2 separate regions of the Homo sapiens genome follow, and region 1 is linked to region 2. Evidence: promoter capture Hi-C in human tissues and cell types (Jung and others, 2019). All regions are on one chromosome and are shown on one strand. Each heading gives the region's core, a stretch centred on a gene start or on the middle of the fragment in contact. The rest is flanking DNA. Distances are from core to core; before and after follow the strand shown. Region 1 overlaps PNISR (PNN interacting serine and arginine rich protein). Region 2 holds the start of SIM1 (SIM bHLH transcription factor 1).

Region 1 (4,435 bases), core at 136-2,635, 1.1 Mb after region 2:
AATTGAATTTGAAAGGGCGGGGTTGGATATGTGGAAATGGGTAGAAGACACATGATGGGATTAAGGGATATGGAATTGAGATTGGTGTACTGGATCATTTTATGGTCAGAATTTAATCTTCTCATAAATAGCCTTGCCATAGCATATATAGCAGGAAATGGACTTCCCTTTGGAAGACTCTCAAAATGTAGAAAGCTTTTTGAAGATTTTACATTTTTTAAACTGATTTAGTCCTTGTTTTTCTAAAGAAAGAGAAAAGCCTAAAATATGTTGCTTATGGAGAACACTTCTGTGAATTCTGACTCTTAAAGTTGTATATTATATTGAACTGGATGGTGTGCTATATCATTTTAAAATTTCTTTTTGCTGTGGACTATTTCAGGCACACATACAAAGGTAGAAGAGTATAGGGAGCCCTTGTTTATTATTTAGCTTTAACAATTGTTAACTAGTGGCCAATTTTGTTTCATCCGTAAGACCACTTACGTTGCTCTGCCCTCACTGGATTGATCTGATGCTATTTCTTTTTTTAATAGCCATGTATCATTCTATTGTAGGATTGTACCATAATTTAACAAAGCCACTTTTGGGTGTTTTGTTATTTAAAGTTTTTCACTTTTTGAAACAATTAGCATAATCTTGTGTACATATTGTTATTCACTTGTCCAATTATTTTCTTATTAAAAGAGCTAGGTTTGTTAAGTCACGGTAATTTCAGGTGCACATTGCCATGTGTAACCCCATAGGGGTTATGCCAGTGTTTCAAACTGAGAATACCTATTTAATCTTCATTAAAGTAAGATGCAGAAAAACATATCTTATTCTACTTTGTTTACTTTATTAATATTAGATCTTAATGCATTTTTGGGTGGACTTGCAAAATAAAAATTATTAAAAAGATCTTGAAATGTTAAATGTAGATGCTTGGGAAGAGAGGCCAGGTGCGGTGGTTCATGCCTGTAGTTCTAGCACTTTGGGAAGCTGAGGTGGGCAAATCGCTTGAGCTCAGGAGTTTGAGGCCAGCCGGGGCAACATGATGAAACCCCATCGCTACCAAAAATGCAAAAATTAGCCAGGCTCATAACCCAGACTCTACATGGATGGATGGATGGATCATGGATGAATGGATGGATGGATGGATGGATGGATGGATGGATGGATGGATGGATAGATACGTAAAAATTTAGAAATTAAAAAAATGTATCTTGGGAAGAGAGTCTTCAAGATAGTGGGGAAATGAATTTTGAGTAAAGACTGGCTAAGAAGTTGTAGCCAGACTACACTAGTCATGTTTTGGCTAGAGAAGGGAGCCTTATTTAAAGAAGGGCAACCATAAGGAAAAACAGAGTTAGGTAGCTGCTCTCATCAAAGGCCTATAGGCTCGAATGCAGGCCTGGAAAGATAAATAGGACATGTTGAAGGAAGAAATGATAGCGTTTGATTATTTTTGTGGTGATTTTTTTTTTGTAAAGGTGATGACATTTAAAAATTCAGTAAACTAAGATGCAGGGGATAAATTTTATATGAATTAATATTAGAAATGGGTTAAGAGTGTTTTTTGTGGAGTTCTTTCCTGAAAGTGTAAGTAGTTTATATTATTTTTTAGCCTGAATATGGGTTATTTGCTAAGTACCCTTTCAGACACAGTATGCTTTAATATTTAAGATCTCATTCAAAAAAAATTTTTCTAATTTCCCTCATACCCTCTCTGTCTGAAATATTTAAGATCTAAGGAATAGTTGAGCTGCTTATTTTACATAGAGGCACTATTCTTTTAACTCCTACATTCTGAATGCTGAAGTCAGTGTTAATTTACGTTAGGCCAGATTGATTGGGCTGCATTGGCCCAAGCTTGGATTGCCCAAAGAGAAGCTTCAGGACAGCAAAGCATGGTAGAACAACCACCAGGAATGATGCCAAATGGACAAGATATGTCTACAATGGAATCTGGTCCAAACAATCATGGGAATTTCCAAGGGGATTCAAACTTCAACAGAATGTGGCAACCAGGTTTGTTGTTTATGTTTTCACAATTTTAAGACTTTTAAAAAACAGAATGAAGATTATTATTAAATTTTTTAATTTGCTTAGTTGTATGACTTCTGGAAATTAATGCTTCTTAAAGAATAGGCAGTTTTCAATTTGATTTGACTTTGACATTTTGTGGTTAAAATTATTCTGTACTCATTCTGCTAGCTTTGTGGCACTCAGTTTGATTCTTTTCTTGGTTCTTCATTCCTAGGCTGACAGGGGCTGGGAACACTCTGGAAACCTCACTTGGCATCTAGGGAAGAGAGCATTCTTTGTCTCTCTATTGCAACCTCTGGCCTTTTCAGAAGCAGCACTGGCAGAGTAAAACATGTCTAGCCTCTAATTAAAGAAAAATTGTGTCACTGTGTGACAAATTAGTCTGTCAAATATACTCTGCCCCTACCATCCGCCTACCTTTTTCTTCCCTTTTTTTTTTTCAGATAGTGAAGATCTTTCATAAGTTTTTGTGTGTTTTACTTTTTTGTTTGTTTTATTTCACAGTATGATGTAGATTTCTTGATGCTAATTCAGTCTTCCATGGCTTGTGTTATTCCTTTTTAATAGTCACTTGAAACTATGGAGGAATCAGCCTCTCATTTGGGTATGCTGATGGTGAAGTCATAACCTCCTTTCCCTATTAATACTTTTTGTTTCTCCTTATAAGAATGGAGACCTCAGTCGAGACCAGCCTGGGCAACATAGCAAGGCCCTGTCTCTACAAAAAAAAAAAAAAAAAAAACCTTAAAACTTAGTCAGGCATAGAGGCGCATGCCTGTAGTCCCAGCTACTTGGGAGGCTGAGGTGGGAGGATTGCTTGAGCCTAGGGGATTGAGACTGCAATGAGCTGTGATCACGCCACTGCACTCCAGCCTGGGTGACAGAATGAGTCCCTCATTTAAAACAAACAAACAAAAAAAACGAGAATTCAGATTACTTTTAAAAACATAAATATTCTAGTCTTTGATACTGTGAGGTGGTTCATTTCTAGCTTTCTTGAAAGTGAAATTTCCCCACATTTGAAAATGTTTTAGTTCCTAAGTTTAAGTTCTTAAATGACTCCCGCGGGCATCCCTACCCCTTAGTTTTACTCTACTTTGTGACCCTGGGCAAGTGATTTACCTCTGTGTGCCTCGATTTTCCCTCCCGAAATTGGCAAAAATAATACCTAATTTCTCCCTACCTCACAGGGATGTTGTGAGGATAAATGTGTTCGTGTAAGAAAGAAATTATATAAAACCTCAAGGTATTATTTTTGTGGTGTTGTTACTAAACAAATATAAAAATTCAACAAAAATAGTGCTTTGGATTTTGTTACATTTGTTAAAAATAACTTTGGGCATTTGGTTAGGATATGAATTAGAGTGGAGTTAGCTCATTTTGAATTATATATGACAGTTTAGTTCATTGCTTATTTTTAAGATAAACAAAAGGAATTTGACCAAGAAGTCATAAGTTGTTTTTTAAATCTGTATGTTTACTGAAAAATCTTTCTTGAGATCTTAAAATTCTGTGTTGATTTTGTTATAACCGCCTGTTGAATGTTTTTATGCCTAAATCTTAAATAGAATGGGGAATGCATCAGCAACCCCCACACCCCCCTCCAGATCAGCCATGGATGCCACCAACACCAGGCCCAATGGACATTGTTCCTCCTTCTGAAGACAGCAACAGTCAGGACAGTGGGGAATTTGCCCCTGACAACAGGCATATATTTAACCAGAACAATCACAACTTTGGTGGACCACCCGATAATTTTGCAGTGGGGCCAGTGAACCAGTTTGACTATCAGGTGAAAGATATTTTGTTGCTTTAATATTGTAGATGTGCACGTAATCCATTCTTTGGAAGTGTCTCATCAAGAATACCTAAGATACGTGTTTCACTTTTCAGACTTGTATAAATAAGCACATTCTGTCTCAGTTATCAATTTTTGAGTATTAAAATAATTAGAATTTGTTTTCTGATTTTTTTATTTCATTAGGAAAATGGTATAAAAGATCATTACGGAAAACTTTTGAAAAAATTAAAAATGTATAAGTGCAATAGCTATATGATGTTTTATTTTCTAATTTATATTTCAAAATGGTATATTTAAATGTTAAAGACTAGAGAATGCACAGTAATTGAATATAGCTCATGGTTAAGACATGAATAAAAAATATAGATCATTTTCCTAAGTGTAATTCCTTGTGCTATGTAGAATTATGACTGTTTTTCTAGTGTCATTTTTTTTCCATTCTGACATGACATGTTAATGGAATTGTATATAATTTCCTCTGTAGCATCCAATTCATTCCTAGGGACATAGAACTCTGTGGGGAATAGTGTTGTATGTTGGGCTTTATTTACTTCATTCCCTCTGCCAGGGTCTACCCTTAAATTATAGTGCTAGGTGTCATTTTGA
Region 2 (4,537 bases), core at 1,824-4,323:
TTGAACCCCGGTTCGGCGGTTTGCACCGGAATTCCAGTATGTGTTCACTCGTTCTTTTACAACCGAAAGTTCACCTTCTGTAGTCTTGATTTTGCCTTTTGCGGGGAGGGGTCAGAAGGCCCTTGAGGTGCCCGCTCCCCCTTCTTTCTGGGTGCGCGCGGCATGCTAGACATTGCTCACAAAGGCGCGTTGGTTCCAGAATCTACCCGGCCTGGCTCCCCTGGGGTAGAGTCACGGACGCCTGCATGTCCTGGCCTCCGGGGTCCGGGGCAGGCTCCATGAGGGCAGCATCCTGGGTTGCCCCAGAAGTGGCAGGGACTCTTGGGGGAACAGTGTCGCCATCACACTAGGCTGTTCGCCCTGCTTGGTGGGGGAAGGAGGGAGACACTTTTTTGCAGCCCCGCATGGGTTTTCTCCCACATCAGGATCGCATTCTGGGTGCCTGAGGGCCAGAGGCTAGGTTTTAAGGCCACCGGCTCAAGGAGGTGGCGGCCTAGACTCTATAAGGATCTCTATTTGGGGTTAGTGGGTCGCCCGTGACCGTCTCTTCCTTTCTGGGGCTTTTCTCCTTATATTGGCAAAACGATTAGTCTCTGAGCTTCAAGAAATTCATTTAAAATTTCCCGTGCTAGAGGCGAACGTAAATTCGCAGAACACGTGGGAGGCACCTGAGGTTCCGGTTCACGGTTCACGCCTCCGGCTACAGGGCGCGTGGGGGGCTGGCAGGCGGGGTCGTGGGGAGGGTGCAAAGCCAGGTCCCTGGGCCCGGGAGGGGGAGTGAAGGAGCAGCGTTCCGGCTCCAACCTAGGTTCAAAGATTAGAAAAACAGGTGTTACGTCGTCATGCTAATTCACTCTCTCGGTAAACGCGGCTCAGACAGTTGTGTGCTGAGGACTTAGCGAGAGGCCGTCACCTCGTGGTCGTGCATTCACTTTGTTTATTAAACGACATCTACTTGGCTCATTGACAACTGAGCTTCACTGGGACATTGGAACAGCCCGCCCAGCCCCCCAGGACGTCAGCCTTAAGCGTGAAGACTTCCTTACTCATTTTGCCCATCTTGCTTCTGAAGGCAAAATTACTGCATTTTTTCTTCTGGAAACCCAGCATTACCTGACTCCCTACCTCCACCCCCCGGAAGTCCCTGCTGTGGACACAGGTTTCAAACCCCAGAGAGGCACTTCCACACCGGCATGTTGTTTTAAGTAGAGATAGGGTTAGAGTAACCGCGGTCTTGACTGAAATCCTCTCTAGAACACAGTCGAATGGAAAACCTCCTCTTAACCCTAAGTGTCATTGCTTCGCCTGGCAGCTATATGTGACCTGGTTGGAGGGGAGAGGAGGGTCAAGAAAGGTTATTTCCCCTCTCCACACGCACCCTCCACCCCCGACTTTACATGTAGTAGCCAACTTGACCTTATCTGATCTTTCTGGAATCTTGTGTATAAGTGAGCCACAGTGCATCTCTCGCTATCTTCTAGCTATGTCTTGTTAAAAGCGCATCATTGGGTGGTTGGAAGGCGCCCAGAACCAGATCTCTAAGTGGCTACAGCCACTGGGGAAATGACTCCTCCTAGATTAGAGTCCATTAGCTGGATTCCAGTTTTGAAAGACCTACAAAATCTCCGTGCTTCTTTCTTTTTCTTTCTATCCAAAACTTTCACCTCCTCCAGCCAGGTGTTGCCCAGATATGTAAATAACACCAGAAAGCTGCTGTTGTCCTTCTACGACTATCTTACTGCCATCGGGCGGCAAGGAGGTGGCAGATGTCTGTATTTTTGAACAAACACTCTTAAAGTTGTTCTGAATATCAGCAGAATGGCACACACCCCTCTTCAAAGTATTTATTTTCTCAGTGGCAATTAGCGCCACAAACGAGAGGATGAGTGCCCCGTCACTGGTGTTCTCACTGATTTTTATGGTAGATGAAACAACTCCCTCCAAACGCACCTCTAGGAGCCGAATCTGGTCACCGGCGTACCAAAACCAAGCCGGGAGTCGAGTCTGTAGGGGGTGATTCGTGAGGACAACAATTGTTTTTGGGACAATTTGACTTTTTCTTGATGCTACCTGTTGTGTTTTCTCAGATGAGAGAAAGAGAAGGCGGTTCAAATTAGAGGGTCTCTAAAAGATAATTAGTCAGCAAGAGTCCTGGTGAGCGTTTGTTTAAACAGCTCCTATTAGGGAACCGCGAGCATCGTTAAGTTCATTCATGTAGACTGTATCCTTTCTGTAAGGAATAATCATGTTGGACTTTTGTTTCCTGAAACAAAACCCGACAAAGAGTTGGCTAATGTTTAAGATAAAGGACTGTTGGGAGCTATGTATCTCTATATCAATCATTCTATTTTGCCCTGAAATGTAAGCTTTTCCCCTAGTGTCCCCCTAGCTGCTCCCCATAGGAAAACTCCCCGGCCGAGTTTCCACGGTGAAAAAAATCAGCCCCAAACCCAAGCCATTTCGAAAAAGACGCACTTCTTTGGGATTAATTTAAAGACAGTTATTGTATTTATTTCCTCTGGCAATGAATTCCGTGTCGCCATGGTTTCAGAGAAACGAGAAAGAGAAAATAACTCCCCAAACCGGCCTCGCGCACGCCGTCGGCCAGCGACTGCCAGCGGGATGGGCCTTTGGGCGAACCCTGCCTCCTCCGCCGGTAGACCTAACCCGCAGGCCCGACCTCCGCTGCCTCCGGACGTTCCCGGTTCTGCTGGGCCGCCGCGCTGGACTGAGCGCTCAACCACCCGACCCCAGGGAGCTCGAGGAGCGCGGGTCGCGCACGACGTCGGGAAGGCCCAGGAGGCCGCGAGCAGCGGCGGCAACCGGACAGCGCCGACCCGGCACCCTGAGCTCATTAGGAGTCCAGCGGTCCCGCGGGTAGTAAGATTCAGAGCCCGGAGCCTGGGCGCGCGGAGGGCGGCTCGGGGCCGACTCGTGTCACTCAGCCCTATTGGCCAATGAGCGCCTCGCCCCTGGCCGCGCCAGGCCAATGGGAGGCGAGGGGGCTTGTGAGTGGCATTGAGGGAGGGCGGGAGAGAGGCGGCCCCGGAGTGAAGTTGAAGCTAAACCCTTAAGCTATAAAGAAGTTACGGGGGGCAGTTTTCGGCTTCCAATTAGGAATAATAGTGAACTGGCTTCGTAGCAACTACGGAGGACCAGGATTCTAAAATCACCTCACTCGTCCCAAAGCTTGCATCCTCCTCTTTCTGCCACGCACCCCTCCTCCAATTCATGATCCAGAAAAGGGAGCCGGGAATGCTCTGCTCCTCTCTGCCGGTGGGAAGCGGAGAGGCCGGCGGTGTCGCTGGGTTGGACGGTAGGCATGAGAACAGTTAAGAGATGGGCGCCCCCGAAACCTCTGCCGCTTGTGGGGACTGAAGGTAGGTGAAGCAGAAGACGCCCCGCGCCCGCCCAGCAGCCCCGCAGCTCCGCGGTGGTGTGGGAGAGGCCGCGGCGCCTCCCACCCCCGGGGGAGCCTGCGAGGGGCTGTCGCGAGCGCGCCACCTGTTAACCTGGCGCTGCTGGGCCCCGCTTGTTGCAGCCCCTGCTGGGCAGCCAGAGCGCTGGGTCGCCTTGGGAGTCCCGAGAGACTTGGTGTGTAAGTGTCACTTTTTGAGGAATCCCTCAGACTTGAGACCCAAGTTAAAGAGGTAGCCAAGGTCCAGATCTGCCAAGGTAGGGAGCTGAAAGGCCCCTGCCTCGCCTTGGAGGAATTCTGATTTGCGGAAACCTGCTTTCCTGGGACGTGCGCCCGGCCTGGGCGCGGACTCGGGGATCCGCGGCGGAAGATCCCTTGCGGGTCTTCAGAAATATGTATTTTGTTGTTTGGGCAACTTCCCAGGGGTCTGGAGGATGCGGCTGGCATGGGTGAGGGAATGCCAGCATTATTTGCAGGGGGCTGTCTCGCTGCCGATTTACCCGTTTCTTTAAAAACAAACCCAAAACGCCTGGCTAGGCGCACTGAGGCCCTTTCCGGCCGTGTTTTTGGAATTGGGACGAGTGTGTGAGTACTTGTGGAGCCGCTGATCTCTTATGCTCTGATGCTGTTGTCTTCACAGGGCCTTGAAAGAGTTGTCTGGGGTTCCTGCTCTTCCCAAAGGGGCTCGGAGATACCTTAAATGCCGCGAGACTGAAGAGCAAACGTCAGGGATTATTATGTCGATTTTCCGAGGACCAGGGTTCGCAGCTGGCAGTAGAAGAAAAGGCTGGCTCCTCAGGGGTCCCACTGGCATTTGATACCCTGAACGACCCTCAGGATTGCCCAAATTCGGTGGATCGCCCAAATTCGGTGGATCAGCAACTTTCCTATACTGCATCCCGAATTTTCAAAGAACATATTTTCCGTTCACCCCCGCTGGTCTTTTACTGCCATCAATACACTGTTCTTGGTGCAAATACTTCAGCCTCTTTATTCAAAGTATGTTTTATGTTTTTGCCAAATATGATCTCTAATTGAAAGTTTATTTTTGGTTTTGGATGAATCTGCGGAGCTTAAGTTGTGAGAAGAAAGGGGGAACAAGACACAATGAAAGAAAAG

The links. The method cuts DNA at HindIII sites, captures the fragments that hold promoters and counts their contacts. A contact is called where the count stands out against the background at its distance.
Region 1: a contact is called between a fragment that was not itself captured here and the fragment with the promoter of SIM1 in region 2, in 1 of the 25 tissues and cell types used here (dorsolateral prefrontal cortex).

The regions. Positions count from the first base shown.
Region 1 is chr6:99,410,126-99,414,560 of GRCh38, reverse strand. PNISR (PNN interacting serine and arginine rich protein) reads left to right here. Exons shown (of 12, transcript NM_032870.4): 4 at 1,822-2,010; 5 at 3,597-3,820. Among named protein-coding and RNA genes, the nearest start is that of PNISR-AS1, 13 kb to the left of the region's middle. The HindIII fragment of the contact is 4,631 bases long and covers 1-3,700 here.
Region 2 is chr6:100,463,457-100,467,993 of GRCh38, reverse strand. SIM1 (SIM bHLH transcription factor 1) reads left to right here and starts at 3,073. Exons shown (of 12, transcript NM_005068.3): 1 at 3,073-3,380; 2 at 4,059-4,537. The coding sequence starts at 4,526. RefSeq lists an enhancer at 1-341. The HindIII fragment of the contact is 4,452 bases long and covers 708-4,537 here.